Regions from separate parts of the Homo sapiens genome. Here region 1 is linked to region 2. The links are contacts of gene promoters, found by promoter capture Hi-C in blood cells and fetal thymus (Javierre and others, 2016). All regions are on one chromosome and are shown on one strand. The core of a region is centred on a gene start or on the middle of the fragment in contact, and the rest is flanking DNA. Distances in the headings are between cores, read along the strand shown.

What was found. Contacts are between HindIII fragments. The CHiCAGO score rates a contact against its expected background, and 5 or more counts as called.
Region 1: a contact is called between a fragment that was not itself captured here and the fragment with the promoter of WNK1 in region 2, in 7 of 17 cell types (activated CD4 T cells, M2 macrophages, non-activated CD4 T cells and 4 more). The highest score is 10.0, in activated CD4 T cells.

The regions. Positions count from the first base shown.
Region 1 is chr12:815,306-822,085 of GRCh38, forward strand. All of the region lies in intron 2 of WNK1 (WNK lysine deficient protein kinase 1), which reads left to right. Among named protein-coding and RNA genes, the nearest start is that of WNK1, 66 kb to the left of the region's middle. The HindIII fragment of the contact is 3,932 bases long and covers 1,700-5,631 here.
Region 2 is chr12:747,579-754,189 of GRCh38, forward strand. It overlaps WNK1 (WNK lysine deficient protein kinase 1), which reads left to right and starts at 5,001. Exons shown (of 28, transcript NM_018979.4): 1 at 5,001-6,611. The coding sequence starts at 5,988. RefSeq lists enhancers at 4,057-4,156, 4,207-4,256, 5,014-5,732, 5,733-6,451 and silencers at 4,897-5,046, 5,127-5,506, 5,517-5,896. The HindIII fragment of the contact is 8,297 bases long and covers 508-6,611 here.

The sequences.
Region 1 (6,780 bases), core at 2,416-4,915, 66 kb after region 2:
ATATATTCTTTATTAATTGTTAAAGTTAATACTGCTGAGCTGATTAATTCCAGATCATTGGAATACAGTGTTACAGCACCTGGATATAGTCACTTGCATGTTTTCTGAAATGCTTACGGTTAGCATGTTGAAACATGAACAGATCATTTCTGTCCTGCAAATTCTAATTTCTTTATCCAACTTCCACTCTTGTTTATGGCAATACCTTTATCCTAGTTAGTCAGGCTTCTTGATACTCTCTTTTCTTCCATTAGAATGTGCTAACTAGCACTATATACCTAGTACTATGAACAAGTGCTAGATATCACATTCTACTGGAAGTGTCTAATACTGAATAATAAGTGTTTGAATGAATTAAGGAGAATTATGTGGTAATAATTATGTGTACATCTTGAGATTCTTTCCACTGGTTTGGATACTTACTTGGTTGTCAACAGTTTGTCTGGCATGCCTAAGATTACTCTAAAATACAATGGTTTACTTGTTTTAAAAACTATATTGAGGAGCTTTGGGTAACATAGTGGGGTAATAAGCCCCTGTGGAATGGCTGTCCCACACCAACAAACTGAAATGTGGAATATAATAAAAGTTTTTTCCAATACGTGTCTAAGCTTTAAGGAAAGAAAGGTTAACCTCCAGATAATAAGCAGAGATAACTCAAAGCCAAAACAGGAACTTATACTCTGGGATTTTAGACCACATATTGGTTGAGGAGTTGATGCTAGTTTTAATGTCCATGCAAGGACAGAAAGCCTTAGAACTAGGTAGAGAGGGGAGCTAGAACTTAGCCTGTGTCAAAAAACTGAACTATCCGTGAAAAGAGAGACCTCAGTGCTCTAGCCAGTGAAAGCTGCAAGGAATTTTACCTGTGTGCAGAAGACTGTGGATAAGAGGGGAGACCTATGAAAAATAGAAATTCACATCAAATGCTACCAGTGTTCTTAATTATTCTGTAAACTAATCTTTTCTTTTTCTTTTTTTGGAGACAGGGTCTCACTCGGTTGCCCAGGACAGAGTGCAGCAGCACAATCATAGCTCACTGCAGCCTCAAACTCCTGGGCTCAGGGAATCCTTCCACCTCAGCCTCCCCACTACCTGGGACTATAGTTGCTCACCACCATACCTGTCTAATAAAAAAACAATTTTTTTTTTTTTAGTAGAGACAGTGTCTATTTTGTTGCCCAGGCTGCTCTCAAACTCCTGAGCTCATCCTGATTTGGCCTCATCCCGATTTGACCTCCCAAACTGCTGGGATTACAAGCATGAGCCACGGTGCCCAGCCTGTTTGGTATTCTTCCATCTCATATGTAGATGGCGCTATAACATAAATTTGTACCATCTACTTGGTACAGGAATCCCAAACCGAAGAACATACATGATAATTGATCAGGAACGGAAAGAAAACTCCCGGGGACATTTTCACAGTTCCTTGGTCAGTGTCCAGAGGCAAAACTGTTTCCAAAGAAGATGACCTCACAATTAAATTACAAATCACACCAATGAAGGTGAATAGACACAACCAGAAAATAGCACTGCAACAATTAAGGATATCATGGACAAGTCTGAAAGTGATTACAAACAATTATTTACATAATGATGTCAGTAAAGATATTTGTAAGTGTATATGAAGTGTATAAAGAGAAAAGAAGGAATTGAAGGAAAAAGACACCAAAGAAAAAAAAGACAGGCATAATTTAAAAGCTTCTGAAGAACTTCTAGAAATAAGAACATTAAAATTCAAACATAAATGGTCTAACGGTTAAACAGCAGACTGAATTGAATTGACAGGAATATTAACTACGAAGAAATGAGCAACAGAACACACAAAAAAGACAGAAAATATTTAAAGAGGATGACATAGTAGTGAGAAGACCCAGATAGATTTAATTATCTAAAAGGGGTTTCCCTGTAGTCCTAGCTACTCTGGAGGCTGAGGCAGAGAATCACTTGAGCCCAGGAGGTGGAGGTTGCAATGAGCCGAGATCGTGCCTCTGCACTCCAGCCTGGGTGACAGAGCGAGACTCCATCTCAAAAATAAAAATGAAAAAGTAGAGAGAATGAGAAAAAGAAAAATTTCAGAATTTAAGAATTCTGATTGAGAATGTATACAGATTCCTAAGCAAGTAGATTGAAAACATTCATATTCATTTCTGGAAGAATGGATAACTAGGACCATTGGCAGCATTTGGAGAGGCAGATTGGGAAGGAATGGGAATTAATTCCAAAATGCGTGCTTTTTGGACCTTTCGAGTTTCTACCTTTGTTCTCTATGTATATTTACATTGAAACAGATAAAACACCCATAGCTGAAAAATAAGATGGGAATGTATGAGTCAGAAAATTTGGATTAAGGCCAGGCGTGGTAGTTCACACCTGTAATCCCAGCACTTTGAGAGGCTGAGGCGGATGGATCACCTGAGGTCAGGATCACCTGAGGTCAGTTCGAAACCAGCCTGTCCAACATGGTGAAACCCCATCTCTACTAAAAATACGAAAAATTAGCTGGGCATGATGGCGGGCGCCTGTAATCCCAGCTACCCGGGAGGCTGAGGCAAGAGAATCGCTTGACCCCGGAAGTGGAGGTTGCAGTGAGCCGAGATTGTGCCACTGCACTCTAGCCTGGGTGACAGAGTGAGACTCCATCTCAAAAAAAGAAAAAGAAAAAAAATTTGGATTAAAAGTTGAGATAAATTTAGATGTATTTTTTTAAATAGACATGAAATTCAAATATCATACAATTAACATTTTAGAAAGTACAATTCAGTGGCACTTAGTACATTCACAATGTTTTGTAAGTACCACATCTATCAAGTTACTCAACATTTTAATCACCTCAGAACACTCTGTGCCCATTAAGCAGTTACTCTGCATTTCCCTTCCTCCAGCCAGGCAGCGTATTTTTTCTTTAATTGCACATTATCTAAGTTCTTTTTCTTTTTACAATTAAAAAGAAATTTTCAGTTTCTGAGCTTCAGAGGCTTATGCCAACAGGAGGGTTTATTAAGTAGAAAGAGCATTAGACTTGCAGTAGAAGTTGTGACTGCTCCCACCGCTGCCTCTGACCAACTGTGATTTTGGGCAAATAGCTAACCTTATTTGGGCTTCAGTTCCCCATGTGTATGTAAAACAAGTGGTTGGACTGCCTGATCTCTGGGACCAGCCATTCGTGGATGGGATTTTTTTATTGTAAAAAACATAACAAAATTTACCATCTTAACCATTTTTAAGTGTATAGTTCAGTAGTGTTAATACAAACACATTTCTGTGCAATTTCTAGAATGCTTTTCATGTCACAAACTCTATGCCCGTGGAACAATTTCCCATTTCTCCCAACCCTCAGCTCCTGACAACTACCAACTTTTTACCATCTCTATGGATTTATCTAATCAGGATATGTCCTATAAATAGACTCAAAGTATGTTATGGATCCTTGTGTTTGGCGTCTTTCACTTAGCATGGTGTTTTCGAGGATCATCGTGATTGCACGCATCAGTACTTCATCCCCTTTTATGACTGAATAACATTCCATTGCATGGAAATATCACAGTTTGTTTATTTATCCATTGATGAACATTTGGGCTGTATCCACCTTTTGGCTATTATGAGTACTGCTGCTATGAATATTTGTGCAGAAGTATTTTTTTGAGTACCTGTTTTCATTTCTTTTGGCTGTATACTAGGAATGGAATTGCTGAGTCATGTGGAAATCTTTGTTTAACTTTTTGAGGAGGCATCCTACCGGGAGTGACATGATACCTCATTATGGATTACATTTGCATTTCCCTAATGATTAATAATGTGGAACATCTTTTCATATGCTTATTGGCTATTTGTGTATCTTTGGAGAAATGTTTATTCAAGTTCTTTGCTCATTTTTTATTGGATTGCTTGTTTTTTTGTTGATTTATTAGAGTTCTTTATATATTTTAGAAATTAGACCCTTGTCCAGATCCATGATATGCAGATATTTTCTCCTATAGGTTGCCTTTTTTGCTCCTTGATAATGTTCTATGATGTACAGATTGAGTATAGTATCTCTTATCCGAAATGCTTGGGACCAGAAGGGCTTTGAATTTTTTCAGATATTGGAACTTTGAATTATACTTACCAGTTAAGCCTCCCAAATCTGAACTCCAAAATGTTCAAATGAGCATTTTTGTTGTGTGTCATGTTGGTGCTCAAGTTCAGATTTTCTATTGGAGCATTTTGGATCTTGGATTTTCTGATTTGGATGCTCAAGCCTGTGCCAAGTTTTAAATTTTGATAAAATCCAATGTATCTGCTTTGTCTTTTGATGGTTGGGCTTTTGGTGTCATGTAAGAGTCCATTGTCATAAATAACCAAGGGCATACAGATGTATCCCTAAGTTTTCTTCTAAGAGTTCTATCAATTTAACTTTTCTATTTAGGTTATTGTTCCATTTTTAAGTTAACTTTTGTGTATGCCGTGAGGTAGGGTCTGATTTCATTCTTTTACATGTTGATGTCCAGTTATCCCAGCATCATTTGTTGAAGAGACTTTTACCTATTGAATGGTCTTGGTACTCTTCTCAAAAATTATTTAATCATATGTATAGGTTTATTTCTGGACTCTCAATTCTATTTCATTGGCCTACATGTCTGTTCTTATGCCAGTACCGCATTGCTCTGATTACTATAGTAATTTTTGTAAATTTTGAAAATTAGAAGTGACTTCTCCAATTTTGTTCTTCTTTTTCACTATTGTTTTTGACAGTTGGGGTCTTCTTGAAATTCCATGTGAATTTGAGGATTAGATTTCCATTTCTACAAGAAAAGGCTGTTGGAATTTTGACAGAAATTGTGTTGAATCTGTAGATCATTTTGTATAGTATCACCATCTTTAACTATATTGTCTTCTAATCCGTGAACACAGGGTGTCTGTCCATTTATTTATGTCTTTTTTAATTTCTTTCAGCAATGTTTTGTAGTTTCATTATACAAGTCTTTCACATCCTTGGTTAAATTTATTCCTAGATCCTTTATATGCTATTGCAAATGAAATTGTTTTCTTAATTTCCTTTTCAGATTGTTAATTGCTGGTATATATAAATACAACTGATTTTTGTGTGTCAGTCTTGTACTTTTGTAACTTTACTGAATTCTTGTATTAGCTCATCTGTGTGTGTGTTCATTCTTTGGGGTTTTTTTTTTTTTTTTTTTTTTTTAAACAGATGGGGTTTCACTCTGTCACCGAGGCTGGAGTGCAGTGGTGCAGTCATAGCTCACTACAGACTTGAACTCTAGGCTTAAAGGATCCTCCCACCTCAGCCTCCTGAGTAGCTGGGACTCCAGGTGTGTACCACCATGCCTGGCTAATTTTTAAATTTTTCATAAAGATAGGGTCTCAATATATTGCTTATGGTAGTCACAAATTCCTGGCCTCAAGTGATCTCCCTTGCCTCTGGCTCCCAAAGTGCTGAGATTACAGGTGTGTGCCACCACACCTAGCCATTCTTTGGGATTTTTATATATTGGATCAAGTCATATGTGAATAGATAGTTCTTTCAGATTTGAATGCCTTTATTTCTTTTTCTTGTCTAACTGTTTTGGCTAGAGCTTGAATTATGATTAGCATTGATTATCCTTGTCATATTACTGATTTTAAGGAGAAAGCTTTTGGTCTTTCACCATTGAGTATATGTTAGCTGTGAGTTTTTCATAAATGTTCTTTATCATGTTGAGGAAGTTCTCTGCTATTCCTATCCTAGTTTCTTGAGTTTTTTTTTTTTTTTTTTTTTTTTTGGAAAGGTGTTAGATTTTGTCAAATGCTCTTCTGCATCAAGTTAGATAATCATGAAACCACTTCGTTCTATTAGTGTGATATATTATACTGATTAATTTTCTTATGTTGAATCACCCTTGCATTTCATAGATAAATAGTGTATAATCCTTTTACTATGCAGTTGGGTTTGGCTTGCCAATATTTTGTTGAGAGTTTTTACATCTACATTAATAACGGTGTTAGTCTATAGTTTTCTTTTGGTATCTTCAGTATCAGGGCAATACTGGCCTCACAGAATGATTTAGAAAGTGTTTCCTCCACTTTTGCTTTTTGGAAGAGTAGGATTTGTGTTAATTCTCCTGTAAATGTTTGGTAGAACTCATCAATGAAGCCATCCAGTCCTAGACTTTTCTTTGGAGATTTCTTGAAGGAATGTTCCATGTACAGTTGAGAATATATATTCACTTGTTGTTGGGCAGTGTGTTCTAAATATGTCTGTTACCTTTTGGTGGTTTATAATATTGTTCAAGTCTTCTGTTTTCTTACTCATCTTTTGTCTAGATGTTTTATCCGTTATTGAAAGTGGAATACTGAAGTCTCCAACTATTACTGTAGTGTCTACTAATTTCCTCCCTTTAATTCTGTGAATGTTTGCTTCATTATTTGGTGGCTTTATTGTTTGATGTATATAATTGTTATTTTTTATGGATTGGCCCTTTTATCAATACATCATGCTCTTCTTTATCTCTTGCATCAGTATTTTTACTTATTTTGCCTGATATTAGTTTTGCTACCTCACCCTCTTTTATTTACTATTAGCATAGAATATCATTTTTCTTTCATCCTTTGAATTTCAACCTATTTCTGTCCTTGGATCTATAATGAGTCTCTTGTAGACAGTATATAGTTGGCTTTTTTTCTTTCTTTTTAAAAAATCCATTCTGCCCATCTCTGTTTTTGGTAGGAGAGTTTATTTACATTTAATTAGTCAAAATGAATGATTTGCTATTTTGCTGTTTGTTTTCTGTATGTCTTATA
Region 2 (6,611 bases), core at 3,751-6,250:
CAAGTAATCCTCCCACCTCAACCTCCCAAGTAGCTAGGACTACAAGCACACACCACTGCACCTGGCTATAGTGAATATTCTTATAGATATTTCTTTCCTTTTTTTTTTTTTTTGAGATGGAGTCTTGCACTGTTGCCTGGGCTGGAGTGTAGTGGCACAATCTCGGCTCATTGCAACCTCCACCTCCCGGTTCACGTGATCCTCCTGCCTTAGCCTCCCGAGTAGCTGAGGTTACAGGCACACACCACCACACCCGGCTAATTTTTTGTATTTTTAGTAGAGACGGGGTTTCACCATGTTGGCCAGACTGGTCTCGAACTCCTGACCTTGTGATCCACCCGCCTCGGCCTCCCAAAGTGTTGGGATTACAGGCGTGAGCACCCACCCTCTTATAGATATTTCTTAGGAAACACGTGCAAGTATTTTTCCAAGGTAGGTACCAAAAAGAAAGAAAAAGACGATGCACATTGTACGTTTTAATAATTGCTAACAAATTGCCCTCAAAAAAGCTTGTACCAATTTACCGTATCATTAACAGCACGTTTCTCCACATCCTCGCCAACACTTGATATTATGAATCCCTAAAAATTTTGCAAATTGCCATGATGGGGACACTAAAAAAAAAAAAAAAAAATTTTTTTTTTTTTTTTTTTTTGCTCAATTTAGACCAGGCGTGGTGGTTCACGCCTGCAATCCTAGCACGTTGGGAGGCTGAAATAGGAGAACTGCTTAAGTCCAGGGAGTTCAGACCAGCCAAGGTAACATAGTGAGACTTCATCTCTACAAAAAATTTAAAAATTAGCTGGACATGGTGGTGCACACCTGTGGTCCCAGCTACTCGGCAGGCTTGAGCCTAGAAGTATGAGGCTACAGTGAGCTGTGATTGCACCACTGCACTCCAGCCTGGACAACAGAATGAGACTCTGTCTCAAAAAAAGATAATTTTTCAATTTTATGAGAGAAAATATTATATTTTAATCTGCATTTTGCTAGTTACTGAGTTTCAGCATCTTTTTCATGTCTATTTTTGTTATTTGCATTTACTGCTTTATTTTATTTTATTTTTTTTTCTGAGACACAGTCTCGCTTTGTTGCCCAGGCTGCAGTGCAATGGTTCAATCTCGGCTCACTGCAACTTCCACCTCCTGAGTTGAAGCGATTCTCGTGCCTCAGCCTCCCGGGTAGCTGGGACTATAGGCGCGCACCACCATGCCCGGCTAATTTTTGTATTTTTAGTAAAGACGGGGTTTCACCATGTTGGCCAGGCTGGTCTCGAGCTCCTGACCTCAAGTGATCCTCCCACTTAGGCTCCCAAAGTGCTGGGATTACAGGTGTAAGCCACCATGGCATTTACTGCTTTGTAAATTATCTTTTCATATCCTCCTTTTCTATACAGTGGTTTGCCTTTTTCTCAGTGATTTAAGAGGGTTTTTTTCCCCCCATATCTTTTGGATATTAATCTTTTGTTATACAGTCTCCAGAGTTTTTCTGGCAGTTTGTCACTTGTGTTTTGTTGAATAGATTATCAATTTTGATATTGTCAAATATTTTCCTTTGTGGCTCTTGGATTGCTCTTTGAAGCCCTTTAGTACCCTATGTTCTCCTACATTTAAAAAATTATTTAGAGATATTTTTTAAAAGTTTGGTTCTTCAATTTATGTGGAAATTAATTTTGTGAACAGTCTGAAGTAAACACTGACCTCATTTATTTTTCAAATGAATAACTAATTGTCCAAGCACTGTTTATTATTTTGCCCTACTGACTTCAAATGCCATTTTCTATATGAAATTCCCATACATACATGAGACTGTTTCTGTACTCTCTCTTCTGTTCCATTGCCTATGCTTATCTCAATACCATATAGATTTAATTTTATGGTTTTATAATATACTTTGATATAGGGAAAATCCCACCCCCTTTATTTCATTTATAATATAAAGTTCTTAAAAAACTATTCTTCATTGTTTATCTGCCTGATTCTCACTTCCTACTTCCAGATGACAGGGTTCCAGACGACAAAGAGGTAAAATAAAAATTACCCATAGGCAAGACAAAGGAGCATGGGAAAATGAGGGAAAGGAGACAAAAAAAAAAAAAGAGAAATGCTCTTAAGGTGGGACAATTTTTCCCCTACACTTCAAGAAGCAACTTTATGTATCAATATTTTGCCACATTCAAAGTAAGGTAGATTTTGTGTGTTTAGGATATTTCAGCCACTGTCTAAATCAAAGGTGTCTCTGACTTTCATTGCTAGCTAGTTACCAATGGCAGAAACCATGTAAACAAAAAAATGTGAATGGAAGGGAATAGAAAGAAACATGAATCAATCAATGTGAGAACATGAACAAGAACTAGAGAGAATAGAGACATGGTGAGACAGAATAACATACTTGTATTCTTCTTGTGGAACCAAATGTAAGGAAGTCAAACCTCTGAGCTTAGTGCATTCATTGTATCCTGGGTTCTTTGTTATCTCTGTTTACAGTCACTTGATGTTTTATATGGAACATAGAGAGGTTGATTCTTTACTGGATAATTGAAGTGACAGAGAAAGGAAAAGTACTATTAGGAATTATAGTAATGAGTAACAGAAAATACCATTTACTTGGAGGTAGGTTGGTAAGCATTAAAAAGAACTGAGTGAGCTGGGATCAAGCCACTGTACTGCAGCCTGGGCGACAGAGTGAGCCTCTCTCAAAACAAAACAAAACAAAACAAAAACTGAGCAAAAAAGTGTTTGTTAGTAAAATACGCACACTAAATAATATAACCTTTAAATCTAATCATTGTACATAATAAGATTATATTCAACTTAAAATTGTATCTGTTTTCATTGTAAAGCTAATATTACACAAGTGGGAAAAGCTGTCTCCTAGGCAAGTGTGGTTTTAAGTCAACAGTTAATTAAATTACTTACAATGAATTTAGTTGTTCCTGGTTGAAAAGACATGTTGATAGGGCATGGTGATTATCAAGGGACTTGTGTCCAATGCAGTGTGGCCAAAGTTTCAGGGCTCAGTAAACAGGAACAGGCAATAATAAAATCCTTTAACAACCACTCACACAAAAATATCCTAATTTTTTCATGGTGCCAAAAGGGAACATTGTGATTTACTGATCTTCTTTTAACTTGCCAATTTGTAATTAGCTGCCTTATGTTTAAAATCAGACTATTTTTCCTAGTGAAGCAACAATTGGGTAAGTTTTATTTTACTCAAAAGTACAATAAAAATGTATTTTACAGCCATTTCTTCCCTTGCTTACATTAGGTTTACGGTTAGAAAAACACTCTTAATTCCATTTGCCATAATGAGATTATTTACCATTACCAATAGCAAACGAATGAAAGATACATTTTCTAAAGCAATGGAACACTAATATTTTAGTACTCTAGTTGTCCCTGCTGAATCGGCATTTTAAAATGTTCGTAACCTGTCAGCTTCATGAAACCTAACGATCATTGGTTTAAAACATTTTTGTAAACTTGAAAGTGTAGCTTGTGATAAACAACAAAAAAAGAAAGAAAAGAAAAATAGGGTTAAGTATTTTACGTATCAGATGAATTAACATGAACTGCAGGGCAAGACTTCTGTAGGTGGAGCTCATCCGATAACTGTGCTAAGGAACCTCCTGCCGAGTTCCTTGCTAGCTGCTCGCTCGCAGCGTGGTCCTCGGCCCCGACGCGCGCTTTCGAGCTTGTTCCGCAGCGGGCGCTGAAGAGAGGCGGCCGCGTCCGGACGCTCTGATGCGGTTGCGTACGTTTTCAGCGCTTCCCGCTCTCCACCGGTTGGACTGAGGCTTTTAAACTGCAGTCTGCTCCCGAGTCCGGCTTCCTACTCGGTCTGGTGCCCCCTGGTGCTCGTCCCCTCCACATCTTGAGTAGTTGCGAAGAGCACAGGGGTCCAGGCAGACAAGGATGCTTTCAAGAAAAACATTCCATGGCGGCAAGCCGCATGGATCCACATTTCCCGGGCCCAGAGCCTTTGTAGACATTGCATGTGGACATTCAGGAGCTCTAGAGAAAGAGGGGGTGTTGTTTCACGAAGCCACCAGCAGAAGAAAGGTGGAAAATAAGTTTCAACCAACTACAAAGGCAGAAGTCAGCCCAGCCCCCCAAGTGTGGTCAAAGACCCATAGATCCGTAGACCTTATCTTTTCTTGAATCCACCGCTCCCCCAACCCCCCTTTTATTATTTTTCAGACAAAGCAAAGATAGAGTTCACTAGGATCCCCGATTTCAGTAAGGCAGCCCTTTTTTGAGAGCCAGAATATCCGTCTCGGCCGGGAGCTGAGAATGTGGCCTTAATTGATGAGGGGAGGAGGATGGAAGGTAATCCTCCGTGTCTCCTCCTCCAATCCGTTTAATCAATATTAATTTCATGCACAATCTTCACAAAGTTTCTTTTCCCCTCCTCCGACTCAGAGCTCAGGCTCCGGTTATCCTGCTTTGCCCTTCCCTTCCACCCTCACAGCCCTGCAGTCACTCAACACTACTGAGGCTCTCTCCATTAAAGATGAACAACAGATCATTTTTCATTGCATGGCAACCCTAAGAGCTCTCTAGCTTAGCAGAGCATGATGGGAGTCTTTCCATCCCCCCCCCCACCCCCCGCCCGCTCGTTCCTCTTCTTTTTTTTTTTTTTTTCCTTCCTTTCCTTCTTCCACAATTAATCCCTAAATAATGATTTTCCTAAGCTCGCGCGGACTTCGGGATGGGGTTGAGCGACCCGTGATGACGCTCCCATCAGCCTTTCAGAAGGGACGGTTTCCAAAGAAAACTACAACTCCCACGAGGCATTAGGCTACAGCAACCGCAAGGCATCACGGAAGTCGTAGGCACTTTTCTTCTAGGTCCCGTTCATCCCCGCCAACCCGTAAACTATAAGTCCCAGGGTGCCTCGGGGCTAGCACGCCTGCGCAAAAGCCCCGGAGCGAGTTGGGGGGTGGGGCTGCTCCGGGCGGCGGGGGGCGGGATCCGAGCGGGCTGTGTGGAGGCTTCAGACTCCCGGCGCCATTTAGCGCGGAGAGTTTCCCGGGTGGACGCGGCTCCTCTCTCGGCCACTCCGCACCCCCATCTTCGGTGACAGAAGGCGCCTGGTGGGGGTGGCTGCTCTTTTCTCTCCCTGTTCCCCCTCACCCAGTCCTCTAGGTCTCCTCTCCTCTTGCCTCAGAGAAGCAGCGGAGCTCGGGCCCCGCGGTGAGCGGCCCTCCCCTCCCCGCCGTTCCCTCCTCCGTCAGCCCCCGGCACCGGCCCGGGAGGAGACGGGTTTGCCAGGCCTGGGGCGGGCGGGGAGGCCTCGGGGAAGGGGGGGCCCGCTCCTCAGGCGCCGAGGCTCCGAGGCTCCGGCCCTTCGCCTCTGGGCGATGGGCGACCTGTGAGGCCGGTCCCCATCGCTGGGGGCGCGTGTGGGAGGAGGCGGCCGCCCGAGTGACCGGGAGCCGGGCCGCGGCCTTCCCTCGCCCGCCTCGGCCCCTCCCACTCCTCTGCCCCGGGGCCGCCACCGCCCGGGCGTCGGACCTGGTCCCGTGCTCGCGGTGCCGCCGCCCTCTGGGCCTAGCCCGCCCAGCTCGGCGAGCGGCGGCAGTGGGAGCCGCGTCCGCCGCATCCGCCTCGACTCGGTGCCGGCCCCTGGCCCTCCCCTCATGACTGCGGCGCCTCTGCTGCCACCGCCCGCCCGGCCGCCGCTCGCCGCAGGATGGATGCGGACCGTGCGGCGCTAACCCCCGTGGCTCAGCTCCCGAATCGCCCGCCTTCGAGCCCTCCTCGTGAGCCGCAGCAGCCTCGGTGCCAGCCCCCGCCGCAGCTGGGCCCAGCGGTCCGCCTGTCCCTCGTTGCGGCTTGTCGGTGCTGAGTGAGGCGTCGTCCGGGTCGGCGCGAACCCGCCCGGCCGCGGTTCCCTGCAGACCTCTGCGCGGGCGGCTCGGCCCTTCACGCCCTTTTCGTTCACGAATCCGAGCCCGCTCGCCTCTCTCCAGCGAACCGACCATGTCTGGCGGCGCCGCAGAGAAGCAGAGCAGCACTCCCGGTTCCCTGTTCCTCTCGCCGCCGGCTCCTGCCCCCAAGAATGGCTCCAGCTCCGATTCCTCCGTGGGGGAGAAACTGGGAGCCGCGGCCGCCGACGCTGTGACCGGCAGGACCGAGGAGTACAGGCGCCGCCGCCACACTATGGACAAGGACAGCCGTGGGGCGGCCGCGACCACTACCACCACTGAGCACCGCTTCTTCCGCCGGAGCGTCATCTGTGACTCCAATGCCACTGCACTGGAGCTTCCCGGCCTTCCTCTTTCCCTGCCCCAGCCCAGCATCCCCGCGGCTGTCCCGCAGAGTGCTCCACCGGAGCCCCACCGGGAAGAGACCGTGACCGCCACCGCCACTTCCCAGGTAGCCCAGCAGCCTCCAGCCGCTGCCGCCCCTGGGGAACAGGCCGTCGCGGGCCCTGCCCCCTCGACTGTCCCCAGCAGTACCAGCAAAGACCGCCCAGTGTCCCAGCCTAGCCTTGTGGGGAGCAAAGAGGAGCCGCCGCCGGCGAGAAGTGGCAGCGGCGGCGGCAGCGCCAAGGAGCCACAGGAGGAACGGAGCCAGCAGCAGGATGATATCGAAGAGCTGGAG